2 separate regions of the Homo sapiens genome follow, and region 1 is linked to region 2. Evidence: promoter capture Hi-C in 16 types of primary human blood cells and fetal thymus (Javierre and others, 2016). All regions are on one chromosome and are shown on one strand. Each heading gives the region's core, a stretch centred on a gene start or on the middle of the fragment in contact. The rest is flanking DNA. Distances are from core to core; before and after follow the strand shown.

Region 1 (4,995 bases), core at 1,825-4,324, 230 kb before region 2:
TGTCAGCCTAGCCTATGAAGATTAAAAGCCAGGTGGTGACTTCTTCTCTTTAGCTATGAAAGTTCTACATGGCATCTTTTGCCAGTATAAGGCTGTTTCATCTACCTTGAACATTTGTTGTTTATTGTAGCTAACTTCACCCATTATCTTAAATATTGATGAAATATTATAGATAAATATTATCAATGACTTGCTTAAACTTCTACCTCAGCACTTACTGCTTCACCTTGTACTTTTATATTATGGCTCTTTAAACCTCATGAACCTGTGCTAGCTTCAAACTTTTACAGCTTTCTCACCTCTCTCAGTCTTCACAGGATTGAAGAGAATTAGGATCTTCCTCTGAATTAGGCTTTGCCTTAAGGGAATGTTATGGCTGGTTTGACCTATCCAGATCACTAAAACTTTCTTCATATCAGCAATAAGTTGTTTTACTTCCCTGATATTTGTGTGTTCAGTGGAGTAGCAATTTTAACATTCCTTAAGAAGTTTTCCTTTCCACTCACAATTAGGCTGTCTGACACAAGAGGACTTTTAGCCTCAGTTTTCAATATGCTTTCTTTACTAAGCTTAATTATTTATAGCTTTTTATTTAAAAAGAGAGACATACAACATTTCCCTTCACTTGAACATTTAGAGGTTTGTGTAGGATTATTAATTGGCCTAATTTCAGTATTGTTGCATCCCAAGGAGAGGGAGGAGAGCTGTTGAAATGGTCAGTCAGTGGAGCAGTCAGAACACATACAACATTTATCAATTAAGTTCACGTGTGCTATGCGGGTGCAGTTCATGGTGTCCCCAAACAATTAAAGTATTAACTTCAAAGATCACTGATCACAGATTACCATAATAGACAAAAAAAAATGAAAGAGTTTAATTATATAAAAATAATGAAAATGTAACAATTACCAAAAGGTAACACAAAGACATGAAGTGAGCACCTGCTGTTGGAAAAATGGTGCTGATAAACTTGCTGGTCACAGGACTGCCACAAACCTTCAATTTGGAAAAAAAAAAAAAAAAAGCAATATCTACAAGGCACAATTAAGCGAAGTGCAGTAAATTGAGGTATGTGCTTATAATACTGGATATAAATATGAGAAGACCCAAAGTCTTATAAACTTCCTTATTGCACCAAATTTTGCTCATTCAATGAAATTATGTTTCTATTTGTTAAAAAATGCATTTTTGATGCCTTGTTCTCATTTCCTTTGCTTGCTTCACCTTTTCCAACTGGTTCACACTTGCTCCCCCTTGCCAGTATATTTGGACTAACTACCATCCACTGTGGAAGAAGATAATTTGAAGAGACGTTATCGGTCAAATATACATACTCTACCAATATTAGTATCATCTTAAATTTCTCCATTAGACATTCGTTTATTTGGAACTTAAAAAGGCTATTGATTTTTTTTTGAAACTCTGAAAGTATCTGAAATTATTTCTCTCTAAGAGCCAGACACTAAGTGAGACTGCCTCTAAGTAGAAATGGTATCTGGGAAAAATGGGAGAGGTGAGTCATGAAAAGAAAAATATTTCTGAGAGAAAAAGGCAAGCAAATATTCAACAGTCTCAGATATAATTCATCCAGGTGTATCCTCACTCTTCCGTAAACATACTTGCTCATGGTTTTTATTTTCTTAAAATGACTCTTTTTTTTTTTTTTCTGGGTCAGAGTTCACTCTTGTTGCCCAGGCTGGAGTGCAATGGCACGATCTCGGCTCACTACAACCTCCGCCTCCCAGGTTCAAGGGATTCTCCTGCCTCAGCCTCCCAAGTAGCTAGGATTACAGGCATGCACCACCACGCCTGGCCAATTTTGTATTTTTAGTAGAAACAGGGTTTCTTCAGGTTGGTCAGGCTGGTCTTGAACTCCCGACCTCAGGTGATCCACCCGCCTTGGCCTCCCAAAGTGCTGGGATTACAGGTGTGAGCCACCGCGCCTGCCCTCCCCCCACCTTTTTTTCAGTATTTTAATACAAAAGTGTATTTCTTACTCATGCAACAGTCCAACAGAATGTTTTTTATTAAGTGACATTTCTAAGCAGTTCATCTTTTAGTAATGATTCAGGTCCCAGGCTCCATTCATCCACGACTCTTCCATCACTTTGGTCTTCTAAGTCCACTGATATTATTTGTTGCTTCTGACATCAGATGGGTGAAGACGAGGCAATAGAGGGTAACACCGATTCTTTTGCATTTCTTTCTTATAGCGTCTCTTCTATATACTTTATACACACTAGGTGGCAGTGCAATGAAAGAAGGAAAAGTAGAATCCAGAATCGGACAAAGATTGTACACAGATCACATCTTACAGCATCTTCATTTTTAAAATGAAAAAAACAAAAAACAAAAAAACTGGGGCCTCATTAGGGAGGTGACCTGTCCAAAGTCACAAGCTAGTTAGTGCCAGCACCCAGTCAGTTCCTTATCCATGTTCTTCAACCATTTTATTCTCTTTAGTCTCTCAGCCCCTCTGTTTTCCCTCACCCACACTCAGCTCTTCACTTTCTTCTCCAGCTAACCCAATTCCTTTTCTTGTGAGGTAGTCAACTCAAGGTACCTTGTGAGGTAATCAACTATTCTTATCATTATTTTCTAGATTAGAAAGGGATGCACAGAGAGGACAAGTACCCTGGTTGAGATCACACAGCTAATAAATAGCAAAGTTGTGTTGCAACACTAGACTCTAGGGTTCAGATTCTGTGCCAATAACCACTATTCTATACTACCAAAGTTATCTAATATCTACTGTTCCTTCTTAAAGTCCTGCACTTCCTTAATTTCCATCAGACATTTTGTCAAAGTTTGTTCCTAACTCTCTGCCTGTTTTCTCTCTGTATCCTTTAGTTTTTTTCTGTGTCAGTCTCTCAAATGGCAACATTCTCTAGCATTCCATTCTCTGTGTTCTCTTAATTTCTAAAATCAACAAGTCCTAAATTAAAATATAAGTTCCACCATTAACCAATTTTATTACCCTGGACAAATCATTTCATCTCATCAGGGTGAAGTGAGAAATAAATTACATAGCGTCTGGCATATATAATAGTAGATACTAAAAGAATACTAGTTTTTATTGTTACTATCATCATCATCATCATCAACATCATCATCGTCATCACCATCATCACCATCACTATTCCTAATTTATATTCATGGGCTCCACTAACTCCTCTATGCTGATCATTTTTATATAAAGGATCCAATCATAATCCTAAAAGATACAATCACAAATGCCATAATCTTGAATGCTGAAATCCCAAAACATCAAAATCCTGAAATTATGATCCTGGAGAAAGCAATTTTTAAAGTTATTTAAAAGCCATTTATTTACCTTTTGTTGTATAATTTAAGTTCTGGGATACATGTGCAGAACGTGCAGGTTTGTTACATAGGTATACACATGCCATGGTGGTTTGCTGTACCCATCAACCCGTCATCTACATTAGGTATTTCTCCTAATGCTATCTGTCCCATAGCCCCCCACCCCCTGACAGGCCCCGGTGTGTCATATTCCCCTCCCCCTGTCCATGTGTTCTCATTGTTCAACTCCCACTTATGAGAGAGAACATGCAGTGTTTGGTTTTCTGTTCCTGCGTTAGTTTCCTGAGAATGATGGTTTCCAGCCTCATCCATGTCCCTGCAAAGGAGATGAACTCATCCTTTTTCATGGCTGCATAGTTTTCCATGGTGTATATGTGTATATGTGCCACATTTTCTTTATCTGGTCTATCATTGATGGGCATTTGGGTTGGTTCCAACTCTTTGCTATTGTGAACAATGCTGCAATAAACATACGTGTGCATGTGTCTTTATAGTAGAATGATTTATAATCCTTCGGGTATATACCCAGTAATGGGATGGCTGGGTCAAATGGTATTTCTGGTTCTAGATGCTTGAGGAATCACCACAGTGTCTCCCACAATGGTTGAACTAATTTATACTCCCACCAACAGTGTACGAGCGTTCCTATTTCTCCACACCCTCTCCAGCATCTGTCATTTCCTGACTTTTTAAAGATTGCCATTCTAACTGGCGTGAGATGGTATCTCATTGTGGTTTTGATTTGTATTTCTCCAATGACCAGTGATGATGACCTTTTTTTCATATGTTTCCTGGCTGCATAAATGTCTTCTTTTGAGAAGTGTCTGTTCATATCCTTTGCCCACTTTTTGATGGGGCTGTTTGTTTTTTTCTTGTAAATTGGTTTAAGTTCTTTGTAGATTCTGGATGTTAGCCCTTTGTCAGGTGGATAGATTGGAAAATTTCTCTCCCATTCTGTAGGTTGCCTGTTCCCTCTTATTGTATTTTATTTTGCTGTGCAGAAGCTCTTTAGTTTAATTAGATCCCATTTGTCAATTTTGGCTTTTGTTGCCATAGCTTTTGGTGTTTTGGTCATGAAGTCTTTGCCCATGCCTATGTCCTGAATGGTATTGCCTAGGTTTTCTTCTAGGATTTTTATGGTTTTAGATCTTAAGTTTAAGTCTTTAATCCATCTTGAGTTAATTTTTGTATAAGGTATAAGAAAGGGGTCCAGTTTCAGTTTTCTGCATATGGCTAGCCAGTTTTCCCAACATGATTTATTAAATAGGGAATCCTTTCCCTATTGCTTGTTTTTGTCCGGTTTGTCAAAGATCAGATGGTATAGATGTGTGGCATTATTTCTGAGGCCTCTGTTCTGTTCCATTGGTCTATATCTCTGTTTTGGTACCACTACCATGTTGTTTTGGTTACTGTAGCCTTGTAGTATAGTTTGAAGTCAGGTAGTGTGATGCCTCCAGCTTTGTTCTTTTTGCTTAGAATTGTCTTGGCTATATGGGCTCTTTTTTGGTTCCATATGATATTTGAAGTAGTTTTTTCTAACTCTGTGAAGAAAGTCAATGGTAGCTTGATGGGAATACCATTCAATGTATACATTACTTGGGGCAGTATGGCCATTTTCACAATACTGATCCTTCCTATACATGAGCATGGAATGTTTTTCCATTTGTTTGT
Region 2 (5,426 bases), core at 1,597-4,096:
CAGCCCAGCCAGCTTAGGGGAGGAAGACCCTGGGAGAGACCTAAAACATTTAGTTTGTATATTTGCCGACGAAAGAAAATTATGAGCCAGTGGAATGTACAAAGTAGAACTGCATTGCATTCAACCTTTTCTTTCCTTTTCTCCCTAAGCTAACAATCAGCATATGTAGCTTATTAACATAACTGAGCCTGAATATTTCTTATTAGTGTGTAGTCTTTTTATATCTGTTAAATGAGCATATTTGTCTCTTTTCTCCCTGAAATATTCATTTGCATAGTTAACAAAATCTCATTTACTTAAAATATTTTCATGACCGTTCTAAAGGATCCATACATTCCATCATATTGTAAATGTATGAAGAAGAATTACAGTGTAGGGGAAACATGATGAAAATTTGGATGTGATTACTTTCTTATTCTTACTTTCCTGTTCTCACTTAACTAATTCAGGATGCTGAAACCACTTTAGGCGTTTTGACAAAAGTCTGTGTAGCTGCCTTTTCCACCCAGAAAAGAATAATTCTCTATGTTTAGGCAGTTTGAACTTGTACTTAAGGACGGTGAATTCGGTCTTTGCTGTTTAGTGTAGGGGGCTGGGGAAGGAAAGGTTTCTGTGTTTATACACTGAATAAATATTCCTGTAGGCAAGACACTTTTCAGTGCTTTAGTCCATGAACTTTTTAAACATCTATCTTGGCTGCTTCACAATTCCAGTTTTAATCTTCTAATCTTCCTGCTCAGGTGCCTCCAGTCCTGATTCTAGAGTACTATCTGGAAACTAAACCATCTATATCCCAGCAAGGAAGAATAGATAAAAGTTCCCAAGTGGTGAAAAACCAATGCTGTAAAATCGATGCACTGTAGATTTCTCGGTATGAGACCCCTTTCTCAGCCTCTACACAACTCTAGCATGTTTACCTATTCAGTTTCCCAATTCACAGGTGATTAAAAAGAATAAATTAAAATGAGATTACTGCTGCTACAGCTTATTATTATTATTATTATTATTATTATTAACCTTTATTGGGTGTTATTAGCTGCCAGACACTGTGCTAATCCTTTTTTCACACATTATTTCACTGAATTTTTGACAACCCTATAAAGTCAAATAATATTAATAACTTCATTTTACAGTTTCATAAACTAAAGTTTAGATTCTAACTATCAGAAGGATGAAGTAATTTGCCAAATTTGTATAGGGTAAGTATAGACAGGCATATAGGTATAACATGAAGGGCTATGTTACAACTTGATTGCAAAAGAGTATAAAAATATAAAGGAAAAGAAAATACAAGAAGTCGCAAAACATAGCAATTTGGAAGTTTTTAATTTGAAGACAGACCACTTTATACCTCTCAGTAGCTTTCAGAGGGCAACACTGTGTTACAACAGGGTAAACTAGCTGGTTTGTGTAAGTATGAATCCAAACCATTAAAACTGGATTAAATTATATGCAAAATCATTTCTTAAGAATGGACAAAGAGGTATAACATATGCTATAAATATTTCTCTGATTTTTTTAAATTGAAATACTCTTTATTAAATTTCAACTTGATGTCCAGTATTGAACCTTCAAACTCATTGTTACAGAAATTGCTAAACATTAGGAAAGAGTTTCAATTAATAGTTGTTCCCTAACTAAGCCCGTTACAAATTCAGGTGTTGGAAGTTCTCTTTTCTTTCTGGATAAAATAAATGTTAACTGTGTGTTTTGGCTTCTTGGAGGGCAGGAAGGCTTCAGTTATCTGAAAACTTCACATAAATAGATCACATCATCCCTGATGATGGTGGTATTTTTATATGTGTGGTGTTTCTAGAAAAATAAAACTTTGAAAGGTAAGGAAAGAATAAACTCGATTTGCAAAAGATTTTGTTTTTACTTTCAAAGCTTCTGCATTCGGATTCAGGTAGCCCAGTCTGTCAATTTGCTATGTTTTGGGCCTATTCCATCACTAGGGTTTATCCCATTATGCTGACTAATGCAGAACTGACCATTTGTGAAGGAGACATGGGACTGTGGTTGACATGATGTGTGATTTGAAATGGCCAAATGCAAACCTCAACCCCACTCCTTACTTGGATAAAAATAGTTGCCCCTAAGCCTTGCCTAAAATGGCCACATAGCCCATACCCAAGGCATAACTGTGATCTGGCATGAGAAGAGAAAGTGAGATTCTGAGCAGGGTTACTTCCCAAGAGGCCAGTCTTTAGTGAATGTCCTGAGTGCTACCTGGAGCACCTGATCAGTTCAGGGAAGCATGAGATCTTTGGTCCAGGACATTCAGAAAGAGCCAGGGACTCTGTAAGACTGCTATAAGTACCCACCAACACAATTGGTCTCCCTGACATTTGTACCCTTTTATACCTTTTCTAGATCTGTCTGTGGCAAATTTTCCAAGAAAACATTGCAAGGAAAAACCCTAGGGACTGAATAGGTAGTAAGCAAGGGAAGGGGCTGAGGGTTTGCAGGCTGTTCCCTGAGTGAGAAGTAAACAAATGGCCCAATTTGGACAGAGTAAGAATAGGTTAGATGAGACAGACATAAAAAATCACATCCCAAACCACTGTGGTCATTCAAAAATGTTTGCAACTTTTCACAAGGGCAGTGGTATTACTCACAATTTCCTGGCCAAATATTCATTAAAGTAACCAAGGACTGAGTACATGAAGCTGCTTCACATCAGCACAGCATCCTACTTTCCTTGCAGCTCTGAACTGTGAGGTACTGTCAAAAAACTCTTCCACACTTTAAAAAGCTATGTTACAGAGGAAAGTTGGAATGTGTTCTGGGAGTGGGTGTGTTTGCTTGAGTTCAGTGTGTGCAGAAAAGGCAAGCCTCCACAGCCATTTACACATTTCCCTCCTCAGCAATGGGTACACAGACAGCCAAGCTCCTGGACTAAGTCTCTGAATGGTAACGTACATTTATAAAGATTATTTTCTTAACTATTTTGAGGTATTTTATAAATAATATGCATGTGTCTTCTGAGGGCATATATATATATATATATATATATTTAGTCGACTTTTGCTTGTTTTCTCCTGAGGCTGGTCTTGTGTGGTTACTTATGTGGTATGATTTCTGAGGTGTCAGAAAGAGCTCCCTCCTACTTCCTACCACCCTAGTCACCCAAAAATATCTCTTGGGCTGGCCCACCGCAGAGCCTAAAATTCCCACATTGCTCAAACATTTGATTTAGTCACTGAAAGCAGCTGTTAAAATCCAAATGTTACATTGGGATATTAGGCAGATATTCAAGATTAAAGACTATATAAAACAGAAAATAATATTAAAAAGTTGCTTTTGATATAATGTTAAGTTTCAAAGGATAAATGCAAAATGACATGTGCAGTTTGGGACAGATGCTGTTCTTAAAATGTCGTGGAGTCAGATCCAGCATATATACCCCAGCTCATGAACATAAGCCTATGGTAAAAGAAACCCAGCATTGTTGGGCAGATTTTGTTTTATGTTGAATGTGTGCTTTCCACAGTTTCTGATCCTCAGCTCCCACTCTCTTCGCAGTGTATCTGACACTTCCCCTTACTGAGCTCCGGAGGCTCCTTCTTGCCGAGCTCCGGAGGCTCCCAGTGACCTCTTGATAATCAGCCTTGGCGGGGCCCAAATACCACCCCTTGGAAAACTCACTGAGCCTGACATCTGCCTGTAAGCAGCTTTCAGGAAGGATCTCACAAACACCCACCCAATCTCTCTTGGTAGCAAATTGTCAAATCATACCCATTTCCTCAAAAGATGGTGGAGGACTTAGCAGCCTCCTATATTGTTCTGAAATTGGAGAATGAAATTCGGCAGGCTCAAGTGCAGTGGCTGATGGAAGAAAATGCTGCTCTCCAGGCCCAGATCCCAGAGCTTCAGAAGTCCCAAGCAGCCAAGGAGTATGATCTACTCCGAAAGTCCTCAGAGGCCAAGGAGCCCCAGAAGCTCCCAGAGCACATGAATCCCCCAGCAGCCTGGGAGGCCCAAAAGACCCCAGAGTTCAAGGAACCCCAGAAGCCACCAGAGCCACAGGATCTTCTACCCTGGGAACCCCCAGCAGCCTGGGAACTCCAGGAGGCCCCAGCAGCCCCAGAGTCCCTGGCGCCTCCAGCAACCCGGGAGTCCCAGAAACCTCCAATGGCCCATGAGATCCCAACAGTCTTGGAGGGCCAGGGGCCTGCAAACACCCAGGATGCCACAATAGCCCAAGAGCCCAAGAATTCAGAACCCCAGGATCCCCCAAATATTGAGAAGCCCCAGGAGGCACCAGAATACCAGGAAACTGCAGCACAGCTAGAGTTCCTTGAGCTTCCACCTCCCCAGGAGCCTCTGGAGCCTTCAAATGCCCAGGAATTCCTAGAACTCTCAGCAGCCCAGGAGTCCCTGGAGGGTCTAATAGTTGTGGAGACATCAGCAGCTTCAGAGTTTCCACAGGCCCCTATTGGGTTAGAGGCTACAGATTTCCCCCTGCAATACACTTTAACCTTCAGTGGAGATTCCCAGAAGCTTCCTGAGTTCCTGGTTCAGCTGTATAGTTACATGAGAGTCAGAGGGCACCTGTATCCCACTGAAGCAGCCCTGGTGAGCTTTGTTGGCAATTGCTTCTCAGGTAGGGCAGGATGGTGGTTCCAGCTCTTACTGGATATCCAAAGCCCCTTACTGGAGCAATGTGAAAGTTTCATACCTGTGCTCCAGGATACTTTTGATAATCCAGAAAACATGAAAGATGCCAACCAGTGCATCCATCAACTCTGCCAAGGGGAGGGTCATGTAGCAACCCACTTCCACCTCATTGCTCAAGAGCTGAACTGGGATGAAAGCACTCTCTGGATCCAATTTCAAGAAGGTCTTGCCAGTTCTATACAAGATGAACTGTCTCACACAAGCCCAGCCACCAACCTATCTGATCTCATCACTCAGTGCATCAGCCTGGAAGAGAAGCCTGATCCCAATCCATTAGGGAAAAGTTCCTCTGCAGAGGGAGATGGACCCGAGAGTCCACCAGCTGAAAACCAACCTATGCAGGCTGCAATCAACTGCCCACACATCAGTGAAGCTGAATGGGTCCGTTGGCACAAAGGCCGCTTATGCCTCTACTGTGGTTATCCTGGTCATTTTGCCAGAGATTGCCCTGTCAAGCCTCATCAGGCCCTGCAGGCGGGAAACATCCAGGCCTGCCAGTAAGGGGGACCCCACGTGGGCCAATCTACAAATATGCGTCCCCCTCTCTTCCAATATCCATGTCTCATACACTATGGCTTACTGTTGAAATCCAACTGGGAAGAAGATAATTCTTTGAGCAAGCAATGGTAGATTCAGGCTCCTACAGAAACAGCATTGATCATACTGTGGTTCTTCGAGAGAAGCTGCCCATCCGCAGTAATATCTTCCCTCTGATGCTGGAAACTGTCGACGGCCATCCACTTATT

The links. Contacts are between HindIII fragments. The CHiCAGO score rates a contact against its expected background, and 5 or more counts as called.
Region 1: a contact is called between a fragment that was not itself captured here and the fragment with the promoter of RTL3 in region 2, in 1 of 17 cell types (megakaryocytes). The highest score is 5.1, in megakaryocytes.

The regions. Positions count from the first base shown.
Region 1 is chrX:78,883,998-78,888,992 of GRCh38, reverse strand. No RefSeq gene overlaps it. Among named protein-coding and RNA genes, the nearest start is that of MIR4328, 15 kb to the left of the region's middle. The HindIII fragment of the contact is 5,006 bases long and covers 572-4,995 here.
Region 2 is chrX:78,656,748-78,662,173 of GRCh38, reverse strand. It overlaps RTL3 (retrotransposon Gag like 3), which reads left to right and starts at 2,846. Exons shown (of 2, transcript NM_152694.3): 1 at 2,846-2,913; 2 at 3,526-5,426. The coding sequence starts at 3,754. The coding sequence ends at 5,181. The region is part of intron 1 of LOC107985670 (a long non-coding RNA gene); the gene reads right to left. The HindIII fragment of the contact is 2,616 bases long and covers 1,890-4,505 here.